Linked DNA regions of Homo sapiens: regions 2 and 3 are each linked to region 1. Evidence: promoter capture Hi-C in 16 types of primary human blood cells and fetal thymus (Javierre and others, 2016). All regions are on one chromosome and are shown on one strand. The core of a region is centred on a gene start or on the middle of the fragment in contact, and the rest is flanking DNA. Distances in the headings are between cores, read along the strand shown.

Region 1 (2,810 bases), core at 115-2,614:
CAGAATTAGAGTACTCATGCTTTAGAAAATACTGGGTTTCTTATCTCTTAATGTGTGTAAAATAAACTTGGAATGTCACTTTGGGTTACCATAAGTTTGTATCTAAAGATTTTATTTGACATTTGAATAATTTGCTTAAAATTTAAATATTTAAGAATGTTATAGTAATAAAGGGATCAAAATAGTTAATCTGGAAGGGGAGTTGACAAATTATAAAACAGAAAACTATATTTGATTGTGCATATCCAAAAAGCCAGAGCTATCACTTCAGCAATTTAATGTATCTAATGCCTGTGATTTGCTTGAGGTCGGTAGAAGCTTATATAGTCACTTTCAGAGCACTCCCCTGAGAAAATGTCAAGACTTGAATTTGCTTCTCTAATGCAGAGCTTCTCAAGTAGTTTGTCTCAAGCTATTGATCGAAGCCTTCTGGGTGTCTAGCTGGGCAGCACTTAAGGTGGCTGGAGCTCCCAGGCTGGTCGCCTCCAGAATTCCAAACAACTAATTTTCTCTATCTGCCATGATGTAAAAAATGCTGTGAAACACCACAGTGGGACAGGCATGGACAGGCATGCAGGCAGTGGGGTGCATGTATGTGGTTTAATACTGAAAATAAGGATACAAAAATCCTGCCAGGTGATGCTCCTGTAATTCTCAAGGAGCGGCAGTGATTTGTTATTTCACATTTTTCCTCACTCTATCCTTGCCCCTGACACACACACTGCAAGTCACTGATTGGAGCAGGCCAGTTCCTTCAGGTGAAGGGGCCTAGAGAAATGTCGGTGAATACCCAGTGAATACCACGCTGTGAAACTCTGCATCTGAGGCACGCAGTGGGGCTTTGGTTCTCTCCTCTCACCAGGGGTTTGACCTTTCAACCACCTCAGAAAAAAGGAAAGGTGGAAGCAGGAAGGGGGACCAGCAGCTCCAGGCAAGCAATGCTAATTAGCTCCAGCGTAATGACCCAACATCAGTTCTTAGCTGAATTTTAACAGTCCATTTGAAAACATTTTCTAGATAAATGAAAATGGAAAGAGCTCTAGAAAATGTTTAAGTGTTACATACTTAAAATAGTATATTTACTTATTGAAGTTAAATGCCAAGATGTAGAACTAGTGTGTTATTTTCTTGGTACAGATTACAATGCTGTGTTTCAGTGAAGGAGCTAATTGAAATGATTAGTAGATAGATGTAATCAGAAAAATATTAAATGAAGATAGTAATTTCTAAAGCAGGAAATAAAGACAGTTACAAGTCTGTTCTTATTTTTCCAATCTGTTATATAACTCCTCCCACCCATTAACCTTAACTAAATGTATGATTCATTTGTTAAACAAATACTGAGTTCCAGCTACGTGTAAGGCATCATAGGGGCAGAAGATACAGCAGTGAACATAACAGGTAAAACCCTCCCCCTCTGCCAAGGGGCAGGACAGGGAGGAAAGGGAAGACAGAGACAGGTGGAATATGGAGTGTTCAGTGTTGGTAAGTGCTAAGGAGAAAAAATGAAACAGGAGGTAAGATGCAGAGGGTGGTGGTGAAGGCAATGGGAGGTTGCCTTGAAAGCGGAGCTCAGTGTAGTCTCCATTTGAGTTAAAGACTGGAAATGAGCAAGGAAACAGTCTAAGGAAAGAAAGACTAATAGAGCAGCCAGCAGAGAGCTCTCTGCAGAGAGAGAGGGCGGACCTGTGTGGTCAGGGAATTGCAGGAAGAAGGCCCGTGGGGTTAGAGTGATGTCAGTGGTGGGAGAGTAGTACAAGATGGCGTCAGAAAGCTCGTAGGGGTTAGGTATACAGCCTTGTAGGCCATTATGAGGAGTTTGGCTTTTACTCTAGGTGAGACGGGAACCCACTGGAGAGTTTTAAGCAAAGACATGACATGGTCTCACTTAGGATTTAACAATTCTGGCTCCTTTTCGAGCGTAGACTGGAGGGGGCCAATTAGGAGGCTGCTGCAATAATCTAGGTGAGAGACGACGGCAAGGGTGAGAGATGATAGACCAGGGTGGTAGCAGTGGAGTAATGAAAAGTATGATTCCAGAAATATCCAAGACAATTTCCTGGCAGATTTGATGTGAGGTGTGATTAAAGAAGAACCAAGAATGACTTTAGTGTTGTTGGCCTGAGCAACTGGAAGAACAGAGTTGCCATTTATTGAGATGAGAAGGCTGCCAGAAGAGTAGAGGTAAATGTGTGAGTATGTGTGTGTTGGGGGGATGGAGGGAGAGTTGCACTGAAAGCATGAGCAAAGATTTAGACAAATTAGGATTGAGATGTCCATTAGACAACTAAGAAGAGATGTCAAGCAGGTAGTTGGATCTGTGAGACTCAGGGAAAAAGTCTGACCTGGAGAATATAAATGTTACAATCATCTGTGTGTGGATAGTATTGAAAGCCACAGGGCCAAAGGAGATCATCAAGAAAGCAGATAGGAAAGAGAAGAGGTCCAATCACTGAGCCCTGGGGTAATACAATATTTAAAAGGTCAGAGAGATTATATGGCCTGTTAATTACATTATATACTTAGGAACTATCCTTCATAGTCTGTATTTGGGGTTTTTAAGAAACAAAAGGTAGAGGTGCTCCCAAGAATTAAACTGAGCCGGGCGCAGTGGCTCATGCCTGTAATCCCAGCACTTTGGGAGGCTGAGGCAGGAGGATCGCTTGAGTCCAGAAGTTCAAGACCAGCCTGGGCAATATAGGGAGACTCCGTCTCTACAAAAACTGCAAAAAAAAAAAAAAAAAGGCTGGGCGTGTGGCACGTGCCTGTGGGAGGTCGAGGTTGCACCACTGCACCACTCCAGCCTGGGC
Region 2 (2,810 bases), core at 98-2,597, 90 kb after region 1:
TGATTATTAGTAATTAGAGCTCTGGGCTCAATTGCAGATTTGTAGTCTCCTTTACACTTTAATACTTTTTTTTTTTTTTTTTTTTTGAGACAGGGTCTCACTCTGTCACCTGGGCTGGAGTGCAGTGGCATGATTACAGCTCACTGCAGCTTCAACCTCCTGGGCTCGAGTGATCCTCTTGCCTCAGCCTCCTGAGTAGCTGGGACTACAGGTGTGTGCCACCATGCTCAGCTAATTTTTTTGTTTTTTAACTTCTTACAGAGATGGGGTTCTACTATGTTGCCCAGGCTGGTCTCAAACTCCTGGGTCAAACGAGCCTCCTGCCTCAGCCTCCCAAAGTCCTGGTATTTATAGACATGAGCCACCAGACCTGGCCTACACTTTAAGAATTTTTTAATGATTTGTGGTTGTTTGGTATTGGTCTTTACATTATTATATATCTGCTGAATGCTGTGTGATGGATATTAAAATTATCCACTCCTATCAGGGAGCTACTAACTAAAATGTAATTTCTTTAACCGTTGAATTTGGACAATCTGACTTCAGAGTTTTAGCTCTTAACTCCTTTACTATAAAGCTGATGCCTCCTGTTTCATAAATAATACAGCCCCTATTTAAGATTTCTACATATAACATTCCCCCATGTTATTTTCTATTAGAGTATGTGTATATATTGCAAGGTTTTCCATTTCTATTCTAATAAAACTTTCATCTTTAGTTTTAGTGGTTGTCAGTTGGTTTCTCACAAGACGTTTTCTGCCTTTAGCATTTTTATTTCAGGTAAAAGGATTATGTCACCTTGATGAGTTCTTGGCATATATGCTGTAAAGTTAGTCTTCTGTACCGGTAGAGACAAACAGTTAAAGCATGTACAGTACTTCTTTTGGATTATATTATAATTTGAGGAACAGATTTGCCATTTGAAGTTTGTCTTAGATACATAATTTTTATTCTGTAAATGTACAGATGGTGGAATTCTGGAAACATCCTGTGTTGAAGAGAAAAATTCCACTCAGAATTTAAAATTGGCCTTGGAGAATTATAAAAAGGGGTAGGGGCATGGATCATCCATATGTGGGTTATTGAATTAAATTTTTCACTTTTTTTGTTCTTAGAGTCAACTTTTATAACACTGTTACTGGGAATACTTGACTTACTAAGCTTTTACTGAACACTTTAATTTTGGGAGTACAATTTCTAAACTCACGAAATAATCTTCATGCAACAAGATGTTATTTTATCAAATTTTGGTATTACATGCTCATTCTTTGACAAATTTTAATTAACAGGTAAGTTATACATCTTTAAATTTATATAATTAATAATCATTTTTTATTTCTAGAACTGAGGTCAGGGGTAGTTAGCTATCTAAAAAGCAACAACTGGGTTTTATTTTATATGCATTGTTAATCGTGGCATTTTGCTGTGGAAGGGGCATTTGCATTAGATTTAACTTAATCTTGTGAAAATCTAAACATATTTAAGCAAAGTTTAGGGAAAATAAACTTGAGATACTACATATAATTTGATTTAGAAGCTTTTTAATCCTGAATAAGGAAGGAATACACAGAAAGTCAAGGAAAAATTCTATGTAATAGTTGTGATACTCAAGCTGAAAATAGTCTGATCCAGCAGCCTAAAAGAATGACCTCCTCACTGGTTGAGCATACTTCAGTGTCATGAAATGAAGAGGACGGGAAAAGGTGTCTGTGCATCTTTGTTTGAAGACTGTACTAGGTATAGTGTACTTGCATGTTAACTCAAATACTAGGCTAAAAAGTTTGTATTATTATTCCTCTTTTAAAGATGAGGAAACTGAAATTTTAAAAGCAGGTGACTTGTCTGTGGTTAGAAGAAATATATGCAGAATTGTGATTTATGCCCAGAATATCTGACTCCAAGACCTAAATTCTTTCTGCCATATCATATGCTTTCTACTTATCTTTTGTTTGTTTGTTTTTTATTCCATTTTCCCCCCTTTGAACTGTGTTGGAAGTTTTCTGTTCTATTTCTTTTTTTCTCTATGGTTACCGTAGAAATGTTAATATGCATACTTAACAAAGTCTAAATAAATGTAAATGCAATCTTTATCCTTCTCCTGAACCTCCTTCTGATAAGAACTATTTTTATCAGACATTATAGTTTTGGGACTTGATCTTTCAGCCCCAGAAATAACAGTGTTTATATTTACCCATATGCATTTAACCTTTTTTCCCTTGACCATTCCTTCATGTGTATCGATTGTAAGCTGAAATGTTTTTTAATTTACTCCCTCAGGAGCTTTATGTGAGATGGTCTTTGCTCAGGCTCTCCATTTCGTACAGGCCCTCAAGTTTTGCTGCCTATTACCCTATTTTCTATAGCTCCCCTCCCCATCAGGTTCATTCCACCAGGAATATGTAGATTCCCCAGGGGCACATTCGCTTTAGCACTAACTCACCTCTCTAGACTTGTACTTTTTAAAAAATTATTTCTGCCCTTGGAGCATTTCTCTTACTTTATTGTTGGCTCTTCTATACATTAAAAAAAAATTTTAAGTACTTAAATACAACAATTTTTGGTGATCTCCAGCCATGGGGCTGCATTGCCAGAAATAAAAGTCCACATTGTCATTGTGCTTCATGGGAGTATTTTGTATTGAACATGTGGGCTGGGGGATGGGTAGAGGATGTTTTTAAATTTATTTTAAAATAAGTTCCTAGAAACTGATGAAACTCTTTCATTTAGAGTCATAAGAAATAAACTATTTGTTTGATGAAGAAGCAACAGAGGACTTCCAAAAAGCACTTTTGAAAACTCCCCTTACTGAA
Region 3 (2,810 bases), core at 127-2,626, 65 kb before region 1:
ACAGTTATGTACACAGGTAGAATCATAAGCTGCTATAAAATATGAAATGCCACAGAAGAACAGAGAAGATACTTCAATACACATAGAGACTCATTAGGTAGAAAATGCATTTAAAAGAGTTCCTAAAAAAATTTAAGCTCGAATTGTTTCCCTTACCCCAAAACAAAAACTCAAAAATTCAATCTTGGGGGTATTTTGGAATTCAAACAACATAAATCACATGCTGGCTCAGCTGGAAAATGTTATCTGTTTCCTTAACACCTTTTTCAGTATTCAAAGCACTGCTGTGATGTTTTTCCTGGAATTGCATGTTTGTGTCAAGACAGTGCTGTAGAAGACAAAGGTTCAAAGAGCAAATCTATTTATTCTGCCACTCTCCTCCAATGAGCAAGTGATAATGAGAAATTTAGACAGTTCTGGCCGGGTGCGGTGGCTCATGCCTGTAATCCCAGCACTTTGGGAGGCAGAGATGGGCAGATCACTTGAGCCCAGGAGTTTGAGACCAGCCTGGGCAACAAGGGGGTGGTAAGACCCCACCTCTACAAAAAAAATTTTAAAAATAGCCAGGCTCGGTGGCACGTGCCTGTACTCCCAGCTACTCGGGAGGCTGAGTTGGTAGGACTGCCTGAGCCCAGGGAGATTGAGGCTGCAGTGAGCCATGATCATGCCACTGTGCCCCAGCCTGTGTGACAAAGTGAGACTCTGTCTCAAAAAAAGAAAAAAATAAGAAATTTAGACGGTCCTATGTCCCCAAAGTCCAACAGATAAACTCTTCCCCCAATCCTGCAGAAAAAAGCTAAAAATGGAGAAATAAGTTGCCTCATCAATGTGGCCAACAAAAATGAATTTCTAAAGAAGGCATGGAAAGTGAAGGAAGTCAGTGTCTCACTCTTCACCAGCTACTTCTAAATACTGCCTTAACCAGAGCAGTCCAGGAGCTTGGCTTGCAAAGACAACATACATTTAATACTGCCGCTGATGACAAAACTCACAAGTCACTAGAAGTTTAGCAATGTTCAGAAATGTGTGTACAGCATTGGCACTTGGGTCCAAATGGACCACATCACATGGCAAGGGAGGAAAAAAAAACCAATTGCTCAGGAGACAATGGGATGTGGGTGAGGGAGAGATGGGCATATTTGGCCATCCACTCCCAACACGCTCGAAAGGATTACAATAGTTAGGTTACTGGTAACATCTCTTCCCTAGGTGTGTGACCTTGTCATTTCCACAAATGGTGGCTTCTCTTCTCCCTCCCACAGCACTCAGAGGCATTTTGTCATTAGAAAACCAAAGATTTTAAAGACAGCAGAGTCTTTTCTGCTAGGAAACCCATCTCCTCCTCATGATCGTGTCTTGAGGTCTGAATAAATGTGAATGATAAAGTCACGTTTCAAAACAATACTAAAGTTCAAATATGTTACCATCATTTTGAGGAAGTTAAACAAATTATTAATCTGTATCACCTGTAAATAATATATTTCCTGCATCCTTCATCATGCTTTTTATAAGAAAGAACAAAATGTGAAACAGGAATATCCTGGGAAGATTAAGTTAAAATGTTTGTAAACATGAAAGTATGGTCATTAACACTAATATCAGTTAAAACTACAGTAACAGTAAACAGTAAGTTTGAAGCTGGAAAAAATTAATAGAGTCAAATTTTGAATCTAGTTCTACTTTTATTATCTAGTGAGTCGAGCCATTAAGAAAGAACACAGTGTAATAAAATAGAAAAGTTAGCCCATGAAACACTCCACCTTCTCCCGTCCACATCACAAACATTTCCTAAGGCAATGGAGTTAAAGAAATGAAACAAATCAATAGTTTTGTTCAGAAGACATACTTTGTAACTGAAATTTCTTCAACGTTATTTATTAAGCACCTCCTACATACATAGTCTTCTAACACAGTGACTCTGGAGCTTTGGTGTATGTCAGAATCACCTAGAGGGCTTCCTAAAACAGACTGCTAGGCCCATCCCCATGGTTTCGGATTCAGGATGTCTGGGGTGGCCACCTAAGAAGGCTCCAGGTGCTGCTCCTGTTCCAGGAATCATACTCTGAGAACCACTGTTCTAACAGAAGCACTGAAAGGTCTTTTAGTGGGGGAACAGAGGAGGCAGCAGCACCAGACTTGAGAAGTGAAATATCGAATATTTCAGACGCCGAGGCAATCACTTCAAAAGGGACTTGAATATCCTACAGAGCTTGAACATTTCAGAAACTGCAACTGAACCCTCAGGTGATAAAGGGATTCTGAAGTCACCTTTTTGGAGAACACTCAAATTTCCACTGGGCGAAAAGCATGGGGAAGTATTTAATACTAAGAATCATACTTGGAAATGTAGCCTCACTATTTCAAAAATTTGCTTTTGTCCTTTCCTATTTCCTAACAATTAACTGCAAGTTAAGTTATCGTTCTACCAAACTAGAAATACTGGGAGAAAACCCTGGTTCTTAATTTGAAGATGAAAACTGAATCATCAGGGAACCTTCACGCACTCCTGCTTCTCCCAGCCCTTTAGTGTGTGAAAAACTTTGTTTTGTTGGTAAAGACAATAAAATTTTATTATCAAAGATTGTTTTACTATATAACAGTGCTATTAGACAAGTAGATAACACAATTCCTAATTTCTACATTTTAAAAATATGTATATTTATTCAAATCAATAAACACTATGTTACATTTACTTCTGCCAGATACTAACTATGCTAGGTCCACCATATGTACAAACACAAATAAGATGAGAATTCTGTCCATAAGAAGCCAAGTATTATTTAGGATTACAAACCTTTGGTTAATTTTTC

Evidence for each region. The method cuts DNA at HindIII sites, captures the fragments that hold promoters and counts their contacts. A CHiCAGO score of 5 or more calls a contact.
Region 2: a contact is called between a fragment that was not itself captured here and the fragment with the promoter of FAM177B in region 1, in 2 of 17 cell types (total B cells and naive B cells). The highest score is 6.2, in total B cells.
Region 3: a contact is called between a fragment that was not itself captured here and the fragment with the promoter of FAM177B in region 1, in 1 of 17 cell types (neutrophils). The highest score is 5.6, in neutrophils.

What each region holds. Positions count from the first base shown.
Region 1 is chr1:222,735,838-222,738,647 of GRCh38, forward strand. It overlaps FAM177B (family with sequence similarity 177 member B), which reads left to right and starts at 1,365. Exons shown (of 6, transcript NM_001394345.1): 1 at 1,365-1,485; 2 at 2,067-2,184. RefSeq lists an enhancer at 607-1,148. The HindIII fragment of the contact is 3,071 bases long and covers 317-2,810 here.
Region 2 is chr1:222,826,313-222,829,122 of GRCh38, forward strand. All of the region lies in intron 1 of DISP1 (dispatched RND transporter family member 1), which reads left to right. Among named protein-coding and RNA genes, the nearest start is that of DISP1, 13 kb to the left of the region's middle. The HindIII fragment of the contact is 376 bases long and covers 1,160-1,535 here.
Region 3 is chr1:222,670,519-222,673,328 of GRCh38, forward strand. It overlaps AIDA (axin interactor, dorsalization associated), which reads right to left. Exons shown (of 10, transcript NM_022831.4): 8 at 2,795-2,810. Among named protein-coding and RNA genes, the nearest start is that of AIDA, 41 kb to the right of the region's middle. The HindIII fragment of the contact is 4,852 bases long and covers 1-2,810 here.